Linked DNA regions of Homo sapiens: region 2 is linked to region 1. Evidence: promoter capture Hi-C in human tissues and cell types (Jung and others, 2019). All regions are on one chromosome and are shown on one strand. The core of a region is centred on a gene start or on the middle of the fragment in contact, and the rest is flanking DNA. Distances in the headings are between cores, read along the strand shown.

What was found. The method cuts DNA at HindIII sites, captures the fragments that hold promoters and counts their contacts. A contact is called where the count stands out against the background at its distance.
Region 2: a contact is called between a fragment that was not itself captured here and the fragment with the promoter of METTL16 in region 1, in 2 of the 25 tissues and cell types used here (H1 embryonic stem cells and dorsolateral prefrontal cortex).

The regions. Positions count from the first base shown.
Region 1 is chr17:2,508,428-2,513,598 of GRCh38, reverse strand. It overlaps METTL16 (methyltransferase 16, RNA N6-adenosine), which reads left to right and starts at 1,711. Exons shown (of 10, transcript NM_024086.4): 1 at 1,711-1,840. RefSeq lists enhancers at 1,511-1,560, 1,631-1,840. The HindIII fragment of the contact is 24,606 bases long and covers 1-5,171 here.
Region 2 is chr17:2,636,436-2,641,385 of GRCh38, reverse strand. It overlaps PAFAH1B1 (platelet activating factor acetylhydrolase 1b regulatory subunit 1), which reads right to left. Exons shown (of 11, transcript NM_000430.4): 2 at 3,066-3,287. The coding sequence starts at 3,097. Among named protein-coding and RNA genes, the nearest start is that of PAFAH1B1, 45 kb to the right of the region's middle. The HindIII fragment of the contact is 4,031 bases long and covers 931-4,950 here.

The DNA of each region.
Region 1 (5,171 bases), core at 462-2,961:
ATGCACTAAATAAAATGCCATAACTAGTATCAAAGCCACTACCAACCAAAGATGGAAAACTTTCTGTGGTAATATGTTACATTGGTTGCTGAAATGAACCATGCCTTCCAGTATTGGAAGGGACCCTGGCATAGTCCCCTCCCCTTGAATTGGGGCTAGCCCTTCTACTTGCTTTAACCAAGAATATAGCCAAGGTGCTAGTTCTGCACCTACGCTTTAAGAAGGCCTGGCAGCTTCCACTTTTGCCCTTTTGGGAGCCCCGAGCCAACATGTAAGAAGTATTCTGGCGGGGCACGATGGCTCATGCCTGTAATCTCAGTACTTTGGGAGGCCGAGGCGGGTGGATCATCTGAGGTCAGGAGTTTGAGACCAGCCTGGCCAACAGGATGAAACCCCGTCTCTACTAAAAATACAAAAAATTAGCTGGGCATGGTGGCGGGCGCCTGTAATCTCAGCTACTCAGCTACTTGGGAGGCTGAGGCAAGAAAATCGCTTGAACCCAGGAGGCAGAGGTTGCATGCAGTGAGCCGAGATGGCGCCATTGCACTCCAGCCTGGGCAATAAGAAACTCCATCTCGGGGGAAAAAAAAAATGTCATCCTACTCTGCTAGACAAATTACATGGAAAGGCCACGTGGACAGGGAGAGAACTTGGACTACAGGGAGAGAGACCCAGTTCTTTCAGCGGAACCAGCCCCCACTTGTTGCTATGACCACTGGCAAGACCAGCAGAACGGGTGGGCTAATCCCAGCCCAGATTGCAGAACTGTGAGCAAGTAAAATGGTGGTTGTTTTAAGTCTTACGTTTTGGGGCGGTTTGTTACACAACAGATTATGAAAACACCTCCTCAGCTTTCCTTGGGTGACTACTGGTACTCACTTGTGTATAAGTCTCCATTCCTTAATCCTTACTATCTCCCAATTTTATGGTAATAGTTTGCCAGAAGCGTTCACATTAACGACGAGGACGTAGGCAGGCCCCCCCTTTTTTTTTTTTTTTTGAGACAGAGTCTTGCTCTTTCGCTCAGGCTGGAGTGCAGTGGTGCGATCTTGGCTCACTGCAACCTCCGCTTCCCGGATTCAAGCGATTCTCCTGCCTCAGCCTCCCGAGTAGCTGGGATTACAGGCGCCCGCCACCACGCCCGGCTAATTTTTGTATTTTTAGTAGAGACGGGGTTTCACCATGTTGTCCAGGCTGGTCTTGAACTCCTGACCTCAGGTGATCTGCCCGCCTCAGCCTCCCAAAGTGCTGGGATTACAAGCGTGAGCCGCCGCGTCCGGCCGGATCCTCAGTTCTTTCGCTGTAAACGAGAGTACTCTTCCCCAACCCACAGGCTTATATCTCTTACAATTCAGTGAGTGAGACATCGGCTGAGGACACACCTGTTGCACAAAAAGGGCTCACTGCACGCCATCACACCCAAGTCTCGTACCCTCATCTTCATAACCTGCCCAATCCCAGTGAGTGTGAGAGGTAAGTCTGCAGCAGGGCCCGGAAAACTTGTTTCTTTTTCTTTTAAATAAGTTTTCTCGCGAATTCGAACGCATGTCCTCCTCCTGCCATACCTCAAAGGACTCCGCTCGTCACCACGCCCCCGCGCCTTCTGTTAGGAGCAGCAAACCCCAGGTGTCGCGAGGGTTTCTTCTTTCTTCAAGATCAGCCACAGGTCGCGCGAGAGGGATGTGTCCAATCACGAGGCTAGATGGCTTCACAAGATGGCGGCGCGCTGGGAGCGTATCATCTGCGTTTCTAGGAGCTTCGCTATGCGGCTGCTTTAAGATTCTAGGGTTGTACAGGCCCACGCCAGACACGACGTCTGGCAGGAACCTCGGCCTCAGAGGTGGGTCACTTATATCTCTCACGCAGATTTACTATCATGGGTCACTTAACCCGTGGATCACACGGGTTCCTCATTCTTGAGTTTTGGGCTAGTGAGGTGCCGACTTCGGGGTCTAGGAGGGGAGACCTGATGTGGCTGTGTGTGCGCACGCGGGGGTGTTGAGAGTGGATGAGTGGGAGGAGTTGGCGAATAGAATAGAGACTAGGACTGAAGTAGGAAAGACTCCCCGGTGTTTAGGAGGTTTAGAGAGATCCAAAACTGAGGCGGGAAGACAAACTGAGCTGATAAAATGAGGGCATGGAAAGAACGGCAGTGGCAGGACTAGTGGGAAACGTCGGATTTATGAGAGAAGGCGAAGAGAGAAGATGTAGATTGGTGTGGAAGTGGGAGGGATCTGTGCAGAAAGAATTTGAAGTTCTGAAATTGGAATTTAGACTGTTTTACAGGCTGTGTATCAAGAGAGTGGTAGTTGAAGAGGGTTAATGGTCAAGAGGAACCAAGGAAACAGAAGCATGGAGATGAGAAAGAAAAAAAAAAAAAGGGAAAGCCTCATTCTCAGGGTTCTACTATTAACTGTGGCTTTCTGGACTGACTCAAGTAACCGGGAAGAAAAGTTCCAGTCCATGGGCTGAGCTTTTTTTGAAACTCAGTGAGGGTGCTTTGTGTCGGTGGTCCAGACAGGGAAGAGTTCTATCGTGGTTTCAATCAACAAATACTTGAGTGCCTACTCTCTTAGGCCCTATTTTAGGCGTTGGGATATGCGGTGAACAAGACAGACAAAATATTTACCCTCTTGAAACTTACTGACGGGAGATTTTTTAAAGTAAGTAAAATATATGGAATGCCAGATGGGTAAATTCTGTGTAGAAAATTGAAGCTAGAGCCTGGGTAGCAAAGCCAGACTCCCTTTCTACAAAAAATGAAGTAAATTAACCAGGTGCAGTGCTCTGTACCTGTAGTCCCAGCTGCTTGGGAGGCTCAGGCGGGAGGATTGCTTGATCTCAGGAGTTGGAGGCTGCAGGGAGCTATGATTCCATCATTGCACTCTGGGCAACAGAATGGAAGACCTTGTCTCAACAAGAAGAAAAAAAAAAGAATTGATGCCCAGTTAAACTCTGAAGAATAGGTTATATTTAGCTAAGAACTCATTGCCTATATTGGGAGGTTAGTTAGAAAAGAAGTGGTTGTATTTACTCATTCTGTATCTGTTCTGACCAGAAAAGTTGAATAATGTAGGAAATGAATCGAATCTGCCATGTCTGTAATTTAATTTGTTTCACATATATTCAGAGTATTATGTTGTGTGTGCACTGATGTCAGCTATGTAGTCTGTAGAATTTTCCTTAATGTGTGGCAGAGCCCTAACATGCCACTGTCTCTTGAAGTCACTGTTAGGATATGGTGACTAAAGTCAGCAACAATGTATATTTCAAAATAGCTAGGAGAGGGCTTGAAATGTTACCAATACATAGATATAAAAAATACTCAAAGTGGTGAATACCCCATATACTCTGACTTGATCAGCACACATTCTATGCGTGGAACAAATACCGCATAAATGTCACATGTCCCCCATAAATTGGGAAAATATTTTCCATCAGTTTAAAGAAATTACTCTTAGTTTACTTTTTTTTGTTGCTTGCCAGAATCACAAGAAAGAACATTTTCTTTTTCTTTTTTTTTTTTGAGACAGTTTCACTGTCACCAAGGCTGGAGTGCAGTAGCACGATCTTGGCTCACTGCAACCTCCACCTCCTGGGTTCAAGTGATTCTCCTGCCTCAGCCTCCCGAGTAGCTGGGATTACAGGCACCCACCACCACGCCCAGCTAATTTTTTTTTTTTTTTTGAGACGGAGTGTTGCTCTGTCACCAGGCTGGAGTGCAGTGGCGTGATCTTGGCTCACTGCAACTTCGGCCTCCTGAATTCAAGTGATTCTCCTGCCTCAGCCTCCCAAGTAGCTGGGACTTCAGGCACATGCCACCACACCCAGCTAATTTTTGTATTTTTAGTAGAGATAGGGTTTCACTATGTTGGCCAGGATGGTCTCCATGTTGGCCAGGCTGGTCTCACAAACTCCTGACCTCAGGTGATCCTCCAGTCTTGGCCTCCGAAAGTGTTGGGATTATAGTCGTGAGCGACTGTGCCCGGCCAACACTTTAATTTTGGATATTTTCTTTTTAATAAAGTCTATTATTTGTATTTGTTTATTTTGAGACAGGGTCTCACTGTGTGGCCCAGGCTGGACTGGAACTCCTGGGCTCAAGCTATCCTTGGCATCCCTAGTAGCTAGGAACACAGGCATGCACCACCTTGCCCAGTTGATGTTTTCTTGAGAACTGGGGGCCATCCTAGTTTTATGCTCCCCTCTTTCCTGATGGTCAGTAAAGGGTATGTCAATGCTAGGAAATTAAGACAGGTATATAGTCATTTTTAGTCATAGTGTGAGGGGCAAAATGTAGTAACAGTATGCTGAAAAACTTTCAGGTGACTACTAATCCCCTCAAATTCTGAATTGTTTACTCAAAAAATATTTATTGTATACAGGTTGCTGGGGGTATAGTAAAGACTAGGATGGATATGGTTGCAGGTCTATGTGTGACATATGCAAATTAATTACACACCCAGTAGTAAACTGAAGATCTCTGAGGGAGAAGCAGCACAGGGTGCTTTGAAAGCGTGTAGATGGGCATCTGATTGGATTGTGGGGTCAGAGAAAGGCTGCCTGAGTAAATGATGCCTAGGGTGTGATTTGAGTAGCTAGTGGACCTTCAGAGGTGAAAGGCGATGGTGGGAGGTTGAGGAGAGTCTTACAGGCAGTAAGAATAGGAGATGGTGAGACAGACTACCATGCAGCAGAGAAAATGGAAGAAGACCAGTATGTCTGGAAGGGGAAAGTGGCAACAAATGAAGTTGGAGGGACAGATAAGGCCTGGATTATGCCTGCCTTTTTAATGATTTTAGACTTTTTTAGCTTAATAGCTTTGGGATGCCACTGAAGGGATTTAATAAGGAAATGTTCACATTTGCATGGGGGGAGTGGCTTGTCTGCTGAGTGAAAAGTGGCTGGTAGAGGGCAAGAGTGTTTATGAAGAGATCAGTTTGAGACTCTTAGAGCAACCCAAGAAAGACATGATAATGACCTGGGCCAGAGAGGTGGTGTTGTGAAGGGTGAAAAGTGGGATAAGGTCAAGAAATAATTGGGAGATGGAGTATTCAGGACCTGGTGTGTTGTGAATGGGGGAGGCAGCATGGAGAAGGTGTTGAAGATTTTTGATGTGTTTATCACAAGAAAGATAGCAGTGCATTTGGTGAGATAGGGAAGATGAGAAG
Region 2 (4,950 bases), core at 1,697-4,196, 130 kb before region 1:
GGAGTTCAAGACCAGCCTGGCCAACATGGTGAAACCCTGTCTCTACTAAAAATACAAAAATTAGCCAGGAGTGGTGGTGGGTGCCTGTAATCTCAGCTACTTGGGAGGCTGAGGCAGGAGAATCGCTTGAACCCGGGAGGCAGAGGTTGGAGTGAGCCAAAATCGCAGCACTGCACTCTGTGCACTCCAGCCTGGGTAATAGAGTGAGACTCCATCTCCCAAAAAAACAAAAACAAAAACAAAAGAAAAAAGACAAGTAAATAAAAAGAAGAAAAAGAAAGTCCCTTGCTTACAGCAAAATGATAAGTGCTGCCTGTAGTGTGGAATGAGTGGTGGTGAAAACCATCACTCTATAACCACTGTAGTAAAGATGGTTCAGGCGAGAATCAATAGACCTCAAATCCAGGAGGGAAATACTGATGGAAAACATGAATGTTTGCATGGTCTTAAAGTACTTCCCACTTATTTGTGGTAAAGAAAATGACAGTAACTACACAGTGAAAAAATCAATCATCTTGGTTGAGGATGAAAACTGAGGGGCAGATGACCATTATGTCTCTCTAAATCCAACTCTCTTAAGAAGAATACAAACTACTTATGTAGTATTCTGGCCAAGAATGCGTAACCTGAATCTCATCATGAGGAAACACTAGAAAAGTACAATATGAGCATTTTGGGAGGCTGAGGTGGACAGATCACCAGGTCAGGAGTTTGAGACCAGTCTGGCCGACACAGTGAAACCCCGCCTCTACTAAAAATACAAAAAATAAGCCGGGTGTGGTGGTGTGCGCCTGTAATTCCAGCTACTCGAGAGGCTGAGGCAGGAGAATAGTGTGAACCCAGGAAGTGGAGGTTGCAGTGAGCCGAGATCACACCATTGCACTCCAGCCCGAGTGACAGTGCGAGGCTCTGTCTCAAAAAAAAAAAAAAAAAAGGACAATATGAGAAATACTCTATTTTAAAACAAAGACTATTCCTCAAAAACATCAAGGTCAAAAAAAAAAAAAAAAGACAAAAGCTGAGGAACTGTTCCAGATTAAATGTGACTGAAGACACATGAGGGCTAAATGAAATACCTGATCCTGGATGGGATGATGTACGAGAGTAACAAAGTGCCACAAAGGACATTATGGAATCAACTGATAAAACTGGAATATGGAAGGTTAAATTTAATAAAACTGCTAGCTATACTATGGTTTTATAGAATATCCTTATTTTGGGGAACTACTTAAGTTTATTTGTGGGAAAAGGTATTTCTTTGATATATGCAACTTACTCTAACATGGTTTAAGAAAAACCTATTGCATACTGCACACACAGACCCCCAACACACAGAGTGCAAATGATAAAGCAAATGGTACAAAATGTTAACAATGGGTGTATTTCAAAAAACATTAGTATGCTTTGTGCTAATCTTGCAACTTTATAAATTTGAAATTACTTCCAAATAAAAATTGTTGAAAAGCCACAAAATTTTTTTTTTAATTGTAAAAATATAGAACATACTCATGCCTGTAATCCCAGCACTTTGGGAGGCCAAAGCAGGAGGATCACGAAGTCAGGAGTTAGAGACCAGCCTGGCAAAGATGGTGAAACCCTTTTCTCTACTAAAAATACAAAAATTAGCTGGGCGCAGTGGCAGGCGCCTGTAATCCCAGCTACTTGGGAGGCTGAGGCAAGAGAATTGGTTGAACCCTGGAAGCGGAGGTTGCAGTGAGCCGAGATTGCACCACTGCACTCCAGCCTGGGCGACAGAGCAAGACTCCATCTCAAAAAAAAAAAGAAGTAGAACATAAAGCTACATTTTCCCGTTTTGTTTTTATGTTTTTAAAGCTAGTCAGGTGAAGCGGGGGAGTGGAAAATCCCCCTATGTTCTTCACCTATAAAAATGGAATGCTATAAAATACTCTAAAACAGAAGAGGTCAAACCATTTCACACCTCTCTCATTAAAGCATCTGCATTAATTATTTTATTAGCTACCTCATAAAGTTCAAATTCTTCAAATTCTGTAATGGCCATTGGAAGATAAAAGAAACACAACAAGGCAAAGGAAAGACATCAGTGATAACAAGAACAAAACAGCTTTCATTTTTCTAATGCACAGATTCCACACCAAAAAAAGGTTTAGAGGAGCTATGAAGCACCTAACTTCCTATTGAACATAATATTTTAAAAGATAAGCTTAGGGGCCAGGCGCGGTGGCTCACGCCTGTAATCCCAGCACTTTGGGAGGCCGAGGCAGGCGGATCACGAGGTCAGGAGATTGAGACCATCCTGGCTAACACGGTGAAACCCCATCTCTACTAAAAATACAAAACTTAGCCAGGCGTGTTGACGGTCACCTGTAGTCTCAGCTACTCGGGAGGTTGAGGCAGAAGAATGGCGTGAACCCAGGAGGCAGAGCTTGCAGTGAGCCGAGATTGCGCCACTGCACTCCAGCCTGGGTGACAGAACGAGAGTCCATCTCAAAAATAAAAATAAAAATAAGCTTAGGGTAAAACTCATCCCAACTGACTTGTCTGTTTTGCGTTAAACTTACATACAGTCAAGTCACAAGGGTGAATAATGCTGTATCACGGCCGGGCAAAGTGGCTCATGCCTGTAATCCCAGCACTTTGGGAGGCCGAGGTGAGTGGATCACTTGAGGTCAGGAGTTCGAGACCAGCCTGGACAAGATGGTGAAAGCCCATCTCTACTAAAAATACAAAAATTAGCTAGGCATGGTAGCGGGTGCCTGTAATCCCAGCTACTTGGGAGGCTGAGGCAGAAGAATAGCTTGAACCTGGGAGGCGGAGGTTGAAGTGAGCCGAGATGGCGCCATTGCACTCCAGCCTGGGTGACAAAAGCGAAAAACTCCTTCTCAGAAAGAATAAATAAATTTTAAAAATAATGCTATATCATAATAAGACTGTTTTAAAATCAGACCAAACTGCCTAAACTAATATTGGAACACTGGTAAAAATAGTTTTAATCTTAGAAGAGACCTCCCAAAGCTGTATTTTAATTTACTACTTTCTCTCTCATGAGGGAGATTTTTTTTAAAGCACAAAACAAAGAAACTTACAGTTCATCTCGTTGTCTCTGGGACAGCACCATCTTGGCTGTAATGTCAAGCTTATCTGATATAGTGGTATGTCCCTCCTTTGGGAAATCAAAAAGCTTTTTGATCCGTGGACTTATAATTTAAATATGCCACTAAGTGTCTTCCACACAGGGGAAAATGATTCTTTCACAAATGAATCCAACTAGTAACCAGAAGATATTCAACAAGTAAGATTCATTCCACCTAAGGAGAAAGAGAAGAAAAAAAAAGATTATTTCACTTAAAATTTATTTCTAAATTATTAGTTACAGTACTCATTTTCAAAGATAAATTTTATTGTGATGTTAGTATAAATATTAGATGATGATTTTCCACTTATAGTGAAAGTCAACTAATGTCAAAAACCATACTGTTTTGTCTTTTAAATTAATAATTCAATGAGCCAAAACAGCATTACTTTTAAATTTAACATACATTTACCCACTCCCAATCATGTTAACCTGCCAGATACATTTGATTTCAAATATTAACATGTAACTCTAAACGAATGTAATTCTCTCTTAGAGACAAAAAGTAAAATTTCAAATTTACAAAAAAGGTATAAAAGGTAAAACAGATAAGGGTTTCATGAACTGCACAAGCCGAACAGTGCCAACTATAACTGAAGTAACCTTCAAGGTTGAGTGTTAGTCACCAATAACCTTAGAATGGCCGGTATTTATAACATACACTACTTAGCAATCTTACGCTTTTTATTGTTTTTTTGGAGACAGGTTCTCACACAGGTTGGAGTGCAGTGGCATGATCACAGCTTATTGCAGCCTTCCCCCTCTGGGCTTAAGCGATCCTCCCACCTCAGCTTCCCAAGCAGCTGGGACGACAGGCACACACCACCATGCCCAGCTAATTCTTAAATTTTTTTTTTGTAGAGACAGGTCTCCCTACATTGCTGGTCTCAAACTCCTGTATTCATGGGATCCTCCTGCCTCAGTCTCCCAAAGTGCTGGAATCTTATGCTCTCTTAACCAATGTACCTAATTAAGAAATGTATTTGAGATGGTCTTACTTAAAATAGAGGCTACTGGTATATATAAAATTTGATTGGAAGAGGCAATTCAAAGCAATAAAAAAATCATCCTCCAAATGATATGAAATTAACATATAATGAAGATCCTGTGGGACAACCAATCTAGAAACCTATCATGGACAGAAGAGTTAAGGACCATTTCCTGAGTACCTTTCAAATGCCATTCCAGTCACTGCTCCAGGCACTGAGAATACAGTAATGAATAAGCCAGTGAAGAAAGAAGAATGAGAGGCGGGGTGTGGTGGCTCACATATGTAATTAATCCTAGTACTTTGGGAGGTTAAGGCAAGAGGATCACTTGAGCCCAGGAGTTCAAGACCAGCCTGGGAAACACAGGAGACCCCGTCTCTACAGAAAATTTTAAAAATTAGGTAGGTGTGATGGTGCATGCTTACTTGAGAAGCTAAGGCAGGAGGAATGCTTGCTACCCAAGAGTTCAAGGTTATGGAAAGCTACGATCATGCCATTGCACTCCAGCCTAGGTGACAAAGCGAGACCCAATTTCTTTTAAAGGAAAAAAAAATGCATACCTTCGGGTTTCAAATATGAGCCCTGAGGCCAGGCGTGGTGGCTTATGTCTGCAAACCTAGCACTTTGGGAGGCTGAGGTGGGCAGACCACTTGAGGTGAGGAGTTTGCGACCAGCCTGGCCAACACGGTGAAATCTCGTCTCTACTAAAAATACAAAAATTTGCGAGAAATTGCTTGAACCTGGGAGACAGAGGTTGCAGTGAGCCAACATGCTACTGTACTCCAGTCTGGGCAACAGAGGAAGAGTCCGTCTCAAAAACAAACAAACGAAAAACGAACATGAGCCCTG